2 separate regions of the Homo sapiens genome follow, and region 2 is linked to region 1. The links are contacts of gene promoters, found by promoter capture Hi-C in human tissues and cell types (Jung and others, 2019). All regions are on one chromosome and are shown on one strand. The core of a region is centred on a gene start or on the middle of the fragment in contact, and the rest is flanking DNA. Distances in the headings are between cores, read along the strand shown. Region 1 holds the start of SEMA3E (semaphorin 3E). Region 2 overlaps SEMA3E (semaphorin 3E).

The links. Contacts are between HindIII fragments. The study calls those that stand out against the background at their distance.
Region 2: a contact is called between a fragment that was not itself captured here and the fragment with the promoter of SEMA3E in region 1, in 2 of the 25 tissues and cell types used here (spleen and stomach).

What each region holds. Positions count from the first base shown.
Region 1 is chr7:83,646,310-83,651,513 of GRCh38, forward strand. It overlaps SEMA3E (semaphorin 3E), which reads right to left and starts at 2,830. Exons shown (of 17, transcript NM_012431.3): 1 at 2,119-2,830. The coding sequence starts at 2,233. The HindIII fragment of the contact is 5,454 bases long and covers 1-5,204 here.
Region 2 is chr7:83,442,648-83,447,965 of GRCh38, forward strand. All of the region lies in intron 4 of SEMA3E (semaphorin 3E), which reads right to left. Among named protein-coding and RNA genes, the nearest start is that of SEMA3E, 200 kb to the right of the region's middle. The HindIII fragment of the contact is 4,069 bases long and covers 1-3,804 here.

The sequences.
Region 1 (5,204 bases), core at 1,580-4,079:
CTAGAGAGATAAATGGGCTGTTCATATTGTATTGGTGGGACTGAATATCCCTCCTCTGACAGTATATATGCTCTTCTTTTCACTGAGGCCCCTGAGGTGCAGTAGGCATTTGCTGCTTCAGGTAGCATCTCCAGTGTGATCTCTTAACTGACTTTACTAACTAAATTGCACAAGTAGGAACATTCTATTTTCAGGTAACTCTCTCTATTCTGCCTTTGTATAAAAACATCATATTGTGCATTTTCAGCTGGTTCCATTAAATTCAAAGTTAAGGGAAATCCTGTGGGAGTTTTCAGTCTATTGTACATATAGATACTAGCGGTTTTACTCTCACACCATATGACACCACTCATAACATCAGTTACAATTATTTCTTTGAATATAAGTGACATAATAAAGATGAACTCGATAATAGTATTATGCATAACATTTACTTGTATCAGAGAACTTTGGTATTTTTTGATCAAATTATTAACTCTCTTATGAAATATTAAAATGTGACCTGTTGGAAAACACACTGATATTGAACCATGAAAACACAAGTACCCCAATAATAGGGTATAAAATGTTAATACTAGATATAACAGAATTGTAGCTTGCAAAAACTGGCAGCTTATCTACTTGTCTACATAAGAAAAACAATCAATTATATTTTTTTGCATTTTTATTTGTCCATATTCCATCACATCAAATTTGTACATGTTGACATCTTTGATGATAAACTTCTTAGAAATAGGCATTTTGATACATACCATGATACATCTTCCCAAGTTAAAAGATTAGTGTTAATTCTGGGCACTATATTTTAAACACTTTACCAATTTAGTATCAATGGATTTCTTAAATTTATATTATCTACTGGATAGTATTATAGGAAATCTATTTAAACTAAGAAAACATCCACTATTCTAAAAATGAAAAAATTTCTATAGTCAACATTTACTGAAGATTGTCCAATAAAAAGACAAAAAGGCCAAACGTGTCACATAAAATTGAGGACTCCCTTTTTGTTTCTCCTGATAAATATTCTACCTGTACTTAGAAAATACAAGCTTCTGTTCTTTCTACAGTGGGGGACAATTTAAAAGCTTACACAATTGAAAAATGATTCTTATGTAATCCTGAGTATTACATCTGCTATCTGTCTCAATGTGTCAATGGCTAGTGATAATAAATACTTCTTTGCTGACAATTTATTCCGAATTTATATTAAGTCAGCAAAGTCACTTTCTCTGAGCATGGTTTTGTTTATTATTTGTTTGTTTACAGGAGGAATTACCAAACCTATTCATGACTGGCTTGTATTGGTCCTGATGCAAAATCTATCTTTTAATCATTTATTTATGAGTATGATGTTGCTTTACAAGACAATTGTAGAATGAAATATTTAAACATTTGCTGTTAGATCTTCATTAAGGCAATATAAATTTACACTACAAATGCTAGTGAATACTAATACTTTAATCCATATTAGCCATTTTACAAGCATTGTCATAAACTATTTTCCTTTGCCACACATGAAAAAATTCTAATAATCAATTCAACTGGAAAACTAATTTATATTAGTTGTTAATCATTTTAATTACATGATGATGACAGTTATGGGTAGGGCATCATTTTTCTCCTCGGGATTTTTATTTTCTCCTCTTACCTCCATTATGGAAACAAAACAAAACAAAAACAAAAAGAACAAATTGCACCCCTATTTCTATAGCCCTTTCCCAGCATCCTTGTTTCTCATATGCATAAACTGATATTTAAATATCTACTGTTAACTTGGTGGATTCAGCCTCTCAAGGCTATTTTCAACCTGCTTCCTCCCTTCCTGTGTTCCGCGGGCTAGTGAGTGAACTCCTTATTGATAAAATCCAATGTTTACAGACAAAAATAACATCTCTAAGTTGACATGTGATTTTGCACTGTTTTCAGATGAGGTGAGTATGACACATTAATCAGAGGTACTTAGAATTTTAGGTCAGTTTTGCAATAAATTTTTCAGGTGCATTTTAAAGGTCTTTGAAGACCATAAGCCTATGTTAATGTTAAACGACTTTTTTTTTCTTTTTTCTTTTTCTTTTTTTTTTTTTTTAAACAAAAGGATCTGGAAAGGTAACCTACCTTTATGTGACAGGCGTAACCGGGGGTGGGTAGTATCAGCTGTATGACCTCCTGTCCAAAGCTCCAGTAAGTAACCCCACAGGAGCAAGGTGATAATGTGCCCCGCGGATGCCATGCTGCCGTGTTCACCGTCCAAGCCCTCGCTCCTCACTTTAAGGAGGGTCTGAGTTTTACTTAGGACTTCCCTCCAGGGGCAGCGTGCGAGAGGCTTTGTCAGAAATCGAACGCGTTGTCATCAGAAAGCACAGTTCCGAAGTGCCATTTGTCAGGCTGTATTTGGCTATGTAAAACCTTTCTTTCCTCGGGACAGTTGTTTATAAGCCGGGAGCAAGAGGACATTCCAAAGAGTGAGTCTTCAGAGCCATGTCCTGTCTAGAGCGCTCTTCAGCAACTACGCCGGTAGATTCAGGAAGAAGCTGTATTTTTCAGTCACTTGGGCAAAGCTGTTCATTCAGAAAAAAAAAAAAAAAAGAGAGAAAAAAACAAAACCGAGCACACGCACTCCCTTCTCCCGTGGAGGTCCTCTCTTCGGGCTCCTGGAAGCCTCTCAGAAGTCAGCCTCTTGCACTGACTTGCCAAACTGCTAGTTTTAATTCACCTTTCACCTTGCTAATTAAAAACAAGAAGTGCCATTCCCTCTAGGAGTCGCAGGATCCACCCAGCAGGGATGCAGTCTGTCAGTGGCTGTTTACAGGAAAGTTCAGGCAGGGTTGAGCAGCGTACTTGCTGTTTCTAGGAAGTATTTCTGGTCCACGTGCCTCGCTCCCATCCTCCCTCCCAGTCATAACCAGCCCCACGTTACTCAGCAGCAGGAGAGAAGTCCACATTTTGATGGGGGAAATGGGGAGTTCGGGAGGGGTGATGACATAGACTGATTATTTAAGAATAGGTGACAGACAAGGATGTGGCATCAGAAAGCGCTTTTAAATTCTTACCAAGATAAATTGACCTAAGTTGAATAAATCCAACTTCTTTTGAAAATAATCTATTTGTAACCATCCAGAATCCAAATTCTGTTTTTCACTGTTGCCATAAGGTTTTTTTCAAAATTAAGTCTTTTTCTATTGCTTATATCTTAGGGATGTTATTTTTAAACTCTTTTAAGAAAAGTGTGTTTCAAGAGCCTGAAAAAAAAAAGTTCATCTGTGACTGTCTCATAAATTTGATAGAAATGATAAATTATTTACTTAAGCAAATTGGTCAAATGAAATTAAAGGCAAATCCTTTGTCCTAAAGCAATTCCTAAATTTTACTTCAAATTTAGGAATGTTGAAGTAATTTCCCCCAGGTAAGGTAACTGGCAAAGTTGAGATTCACCACCCAAGGGATTTCTATAAAGCAGGTATTAGAAAACTTAGGATGTGCAATACCTTAGGATTCAACTGCTATGGACTTCCAGAGTTGATTTTCCAAGGCACTGTGTTTGTGTAAATAAGCTTAACACAATAGGTCAACTTTACAATCTACCTTCAATCAATCTCAAAAACTAAGCCAAACACTCAGGAGCTGTTGGCATGGAAATGAATGGTATTATGTTAAGATACCAATAAACTTGAATAGATATTTGATTTGATAGTGGAGAGTTAAATGGTAAACACTGATCTCAACTATGATAACTTTTTCTTATTCTGTATTTTAAATGCTAATAGTTAAAAACTTTTTGAGAATTATGTTTTAAAATCACGAAACTATAACAAAAAGATAACATGTGTCACCCTGATATTTTTGCATTATATAGAAGCATATGTACAGCCAGGCATTCTCTACCCATTTTTCTAATCATGAGATGTTCTTGTACAAGCAGAGTATATTTAGCAAAATGTAAATGTCACTGGACATTATAAATAATTAGATTTCCAAGGTCTACAAAAGATAGCAAACTCTAAACATTATTTAACAGTAAAATGACATGAAGTTATTTAGAGACTTTTAACCTGGAATGCTTGCATATTTTAAAAGCCAGTCTGATGAGCTACAGACCTAAAGGTTGCTCTAAATGTGATACATTGTACCTTCAAAATTCTCTTTTGCTTTCTTCTAGGATGGAAACAAATGACAAAATAAATAGCAGCTCTTATATGTGTTATCTAATAGTAGGATTATAGGAAAAGTAAATGTGGTGCCTACACCTTTTATTGCAAATTCATGGCTACTCTCACATAGCTGAAATTCTACTTAAGATTGCATAGTGCCTGTCCTAACTCTACTATAGAACTGAGACAATGTGAGACATTACAATCATTTCATTAGTACACAAAATATGCACCTCTAAAGTGTTGACAAGAGAATATATGTTATGAATGCCAAGATCTGTCTTTGGTTTTACATCTCATCCTTCAGATTAAGTTGGAGCAATTTAGAAGTAAATGCCAGAATAATGGGTTGTTTAGATTCCTCAAAATGTGCTTTGGCTTATCTGCCAGTTGTCAATGTCCTTACTTATTTCTTTTAACTACTCTTTATGTCCTTTTACCTTTATCTTTATCCTATAGAAAATATATAGATGATGCCAAAAAATGACTGTTAAGAAAACTATCTATAGTCTCAGTTTCCCCTATGTGGCATTAGCAATGGAATAAAGAGTCTTTGGGACCAAATTAGTCACTTACATCATAAAATAAAACAAGAAGAATCCTCAGAAGTAGAGTCATCAAATAGCTCATCATCTAAACAAGACTTTTTTTGAGAATAAAAGAGGCTTCTATTCATAATTACACACAAATCAATAATACTATAGACAAATCACAACATCAAAATCTGAATCCTTGGGAGCCATTTCTAGATACTCTTGGGAAACATGGAAATAGAAAATTAAAAACAATAACAACAACTGACTCACCACCAACAGTAAGGGAAGAGCTTTAGTGGACTGAAAAACTTTGGAGTTACCAACAATATCAGGTGATGTTACTGTATTTGATTTGAGAGGATCCAGGCTAGCAGTTTGAACAATATCAGACAACAAGGAAAACCAGGGGAGAAGATAAATGCCAATTAGAAAGGAATTGATTGCCAGGTCAAGGGTTTTATTCCAAAATCTCTCATTCTTGCTAGTCTTACATCATTGTATGAAGAGCAATCTCAGT
Region 2 (5,318 bases), core at 520-3,019, 200 kb before region 1:
TGTTTGTGGGTTTTGTTTTGTTTTGTTTTTTATAGCCTTTTTCCCTACAACTGTATGTTTAGACCATCCTCTACATCATGTAGAGTTACGTGTTTTCACTCAGTCCCCTTCCTGATGTTCCTGGCCAGGAACCCTCCACCCTCCTGAGAGTTTACCAGAACTTCTATGCCCCCCATGAGGAAGCACTGCTCTGTCAGGTAGAAGTATTTGAACTTTAGCACTTTCCTCTAATTCTGCAGCATAGCTAATAAAACATCCTTGGAATTTCCAGTACATTGTAGCAACTCTCCTTCTTAGTAGCTTGTGTCGATGAAGTAGTCCAAGTTGTGAGGGTGTAGATATGAGGGACTGGGGAAACCAGAAGGGGAATACAGAGAGAAGAGACTGTTGGAACTGAGAGCCAGAATTTGAGCAGCTCTGTAATGGTAAAGCCAGAACAAGTATGATAAGAATAGAATAAAGCTGACACAGCAAAGAGACGTCCAGTTACTGCCCATACTAACCATCAAATCAGAAAGAGACAGGGTAGTGGAGTACCTTTGTACAGGACCTTTCTGACATGGTGACGGGGTATTGGATTGAAGAAGGGACAAAACCAAAAGTAGGACCCCAAGGGTTGGATTAGAGCTCCTGAACAAAAATCTGAACACTTGGAACATGAAAGAGCCCATTAGGTATCCACTTCTGACAGAAAAAGGGTATAAAGTAAAAGTGTCATCACAATAACAAAGCATCAGTTATATGAACTGGCTTAGGTCACAGAAGAATTATAGCAAGACAGACTAGATACTGCCTCCCCTGATGTATTCAACCAAGGCTTTGTTAATTTGAGTTAAGCAAAGGTTTATTTGCACAGCCTGATAGATAGCCTATGATTGATTCCAAATCAGGGTTGAAATAAAAGCAGTTCACTAAAGACATTATATAAGAAATAAACATTTAAATTATGATTTATAAATGATTAGTATAGAAGAGGAAACAGTCAAAGAGTAATTAGTCCAGAAAGCTGGAAAGATCATCATATATATACTTGCATATATGTGATCTTGAATTTTCAATATTGATTTTAAAAATTCAAAAAAAATTTAAAGAGTATTCAAATATTTGAACATACCAGTTTTAAATTTAAAAGTCAACATAATACTCAATTCTATTCAGAAGCATCTTTTATTGATTTATATTAATGCAACAACTATTTAAGGGTCTAGCAATTAATAGTTTATAAATAACTAGGTTAAGTTAAATAACGTTAAGTAAAATAATGACCTGATATATATATATATATATATATATGTTTATTACATGTTTTCAATGAATGATTTCAATGACTGCTGCCAGCATTATGTTGAAGCATGAAGATATAGTTAGAAATGACAGTCTCTTGAGATACTAATTCAAAATTAAGTTTTGTCTTAAGTACAATTAAAATCCAAATTAATCATTGAAGTAAGTAGCTTCATCTGATAGAGGTTGAGATAAGCTTAATAGAGGAGATAATGTGTGATCTCAGTCTTGATGGATGAGTTAGGATGTTCCAAACAGAGAATAAGGATAAGAGTTTTCCAAGTAAAGGAATCAGCATAGTGAATGCATGGACAAATTAGAGAATATAGTCTTTGAAACATGGCACAAAATCTCGTGATTGTCTCTTTGGTCTCTTTTGTTGGAGAGTAGAGTCATGAAGGAAGCATAGGATCTGTCTCTTCCTCTTGTCAAGAGGTCCTCCCTCCTTTGTCAACCTGAATGTGTAGAGTTTTATTTGTTAAAAGAATGGTTATCTTACATTGTCTCTAGGGAATTACTTTAGGGATAAATGTCCAGTAAGCATAGAAAATGTGATTATAGATTTCTAGATAAAGACCAATTATGGGAATATGATTTTGGAGCCATCCAACAGAGGGTAGATGTAGCTATGTAAAGAAATAAGAATACCAAGGAAAGCATGCAATGTTGGAAAACACGGACCAAGAAAAGAATTCCTGCAATCATCAACATTTAAAAGGCTAGGAAGGCAGAATATTCAGCATTTTTTTTTTTTTTTGAGATGGAGTCTCATTTTGTCACCCATGCCAGAGTGCAGTGGCTCAGTCTCGGCTCACTGCAAACTCCGCCTCCGGGGTTCAAGTGATTCTCCTGCCTCAGCCCCCAGAGCAGCCGGGACTACAGGCACACATCACCACTCCTGGCTAATTTTTGTATTTTTAGTAGAGATGGGATTTTGCCACGTTGGCCAGGCTGGTCTCAAACTCCTGACCTCAGGTGATGCGCCCGTTTTGGCCTCCCAAAGTGCTGGGATTACAGGCGTGAGCCACCGTGACCAGCCTCAGCATTTCAAAACTATGGGGAAAACATGGTCCTAAAAATGAAAGGAAGAAAGCTTCTATTTGAAAATTACTAACACTGTCAGATGCAGCAAGGAAGCAGTGGAGGAAAATGAGTTAAGGAAGACATTTACCAACTAGAAGGCTGTAGGTAACAATAACCAGTCCGTTTCAACAAAGTGATAGATGCACCTTGAGTGGAAGAGTAAATGGAAGTTGAGGAAGCAAAGATAGCAAATACAGACTATTCGTTCAAGACATTTTAGAAAATGCTGGAGTCAATAAATCAGCTTGTAGGTTAAGTAAGCTTGAGGCAAAATTTTTGTTTGTTTTATAATTTTTATTTCAGAATAGAGAACTCTAAAACATTTTTATATTCTGGAAGGTAGAGGTGGATAGAAAAAAAAGGATATTTGGTGGATTAAAGTAATGAAGAAACAAAGAGATGTCATCAAGAGTATAGGTGGGGCCGGGCACGGTGGCTCACGCCTGTAATCCCAGCACTCTGGGAGGCTGAGGCGGGTGTTTGGCCTGAGGTCAGGAGTTCAAGACAGGCCTGGCCAACATGGTGAAACCCCGTCCCTACTAATAATACAAAAATTAGCTGGGCGTCCTGGTGGGTGCCTGTAATCCCAGCAACTTGGGAGGCTGAGGCAGGAGAATCGCTTGAACCCAGGAGGCAGACGTTGCAGTGAGCCAAGATTGCGCCATTGCATTCCAGCCTGGGCAACAAGAGTGAGACTTCATCTCAAATTAAAATAAATAAATAAATAAAAAGAGTATAGGTGGAATAAATTATCTGAGAAAGAAGAGTGAGGGCTTCATCTGAGAAGGGGAAAGGTAGCACCAAATATTTAAATTTAGAAGTGAAAGAGAGAGGGAAGTTATGGACTTTTACTTTACGGCCTCCATTTGCCTTTTTAAATAGGAGATATTTCAAATGCTTTGAGTTAGAAAAAGGTGAAGGCAGCATTGGAGACTTAACATGAACAAAAGTAGCATCTTGTGTACACTTACTACATTCCAGTCCCTAAGGCAGCTGCTTTCCCATTTATGATTCAGAAAATCCATGTAACTTTGACAAGCTACTCATTAAAATGGAGTCTTAAGTTTATAGGTAAGGAAACTGAAGCTCAACGTGGATATTGACTCAGGGTTACACAGTTAGTGTGTAGCAGACTTTGGATTTGAAATTTCATGTTAGTCCTAAAGCCTGTATTCTTTCCACTACATTAATCTATTCCCATCCACCCTCCAGAATAGTAGCAACTTGGACAATGCCAAGAGTTAATTAAGGGCTAAAAAAGATTGACCACATGTATATAGGCTCATCTGAATAACAGTGAAGGCATCTTACAATTGTCTCTAATGATATTCAGCAGTTTCAAACAGCAGTGGAGAAAACAAAAGTTTCAACAGAACCAAGGCCAATGAATTATAAAGGTGAATACACAGATACACAAAGAACCAAGTAGTTTGTGGTGACGTTTTGTGAATACCACTGCAGTGAGGTCTCCCCTGTGTCAGAAAAAAGCAAAATCTGGGGGCATTGAAAGACTGAAAATGAGATGTCTGCTGACAGCTGAGGATGAAGATCAAATTGAAAGAGTGGAAAAGCAGTGGAAGGTATAGATTCACACAGCAGATGCTGCTTAGACACAATTGTTACCAACGTTAAACTCTCTACGTGACCCTTCATAGTTTTACAAAGTGCATCAATATAGTATGTAATTTGGGAAAGCAACACATTATAATGAAAATAACTTGGCCTTTGACCATGAAGCTCAAGTTCTTCCAGTACTGTATAATAGCATTAAGAAGTGACTTCATTTCTTCCTTTTTTCATTTGTTAAATGAGAATAACATTTAACACTCCCTTGTGAAGTGTTATGAGTATCAAAATAAATGAACAAAAACAACTGGCACAGGGTATGTACTTAATACACGGTAGCTCTATTTATTAATATTCTTATTAGAATAATTTCATTCTTACAATAAGATTGTGAGATAGACAATGTTACTTCACTATATACTATTTTGGATTTAGTTGATGCCCTCTTAACTAACTTTGCAAATGAGAAAAAGAGGATTAGAGAGAAAAACAAACTGTCCTGAGGAGATTGGACTAGGATGAGAGAACAGCTTGTTAATTTTGTTCCAGGATTTTATTCTATAAATAATGCTGAATCTATATACTGATCAATTAATCAATATAGACTACAAAGTCTGTCAAGTGGTTCAAATATGAGAATATGGGTGGACATATAAAACTCTATGCAACATTTTGGCTGGGACTGGTGGCTCACGCCTGTAATCCCAGCACCTTGGGAGGCCGAGGTGGGTGGATCACGAGGTCAGGAGATGGAGACCATCCTGGCCAATATGGTGAAACCCCGTCTCTACTAAAAATACAAAAGAAACTAGCTGGGCATGGTGGCGGGCGCCTGTAGTCCCAGCTACTCAGGAGGCCGAGGCAGGAAAATCGCTTGAACCCAGGAGGTGGAGGATGCAGTGAGCCGAGATCATGCCACTGCACTCCAGCCTGTGTGACAGAGTGAGACTCTGTCTCAAACAACAACAACTACAAAGTCTATGCAACATTTTTCATCTTAGAAGAAGGAAGGTTATCGCTGGAGAAAAGTGAAAGATGAACACGGAAGCTTATTTATTTACTCCAACTGCAAAATAGAAAAGATATTTAGCAAGAGAGATAGAAACATTGGAGGCATATCTCTCCAGTGACATTACAGATACAGTTAGAATGGAAAATGCTGGAGACGATAGGCCAGTAAACAAAGGCACAGTGGCCAAAGTGGTAAGTGCCGTGCCAAATGATATTTTTCCAACAGTAGGATAACAAAAAGATTTATTTCTGTTTGAGGCTCATATATTGTTTTTTTCAATTTCTAATAGGAAAATAATGTTAACACAGTGAGTCCTCTTTTTCTACTGAACTCATCCACTTTTCTATCTTTCTCTGTCCAGCTGTTTAATCCA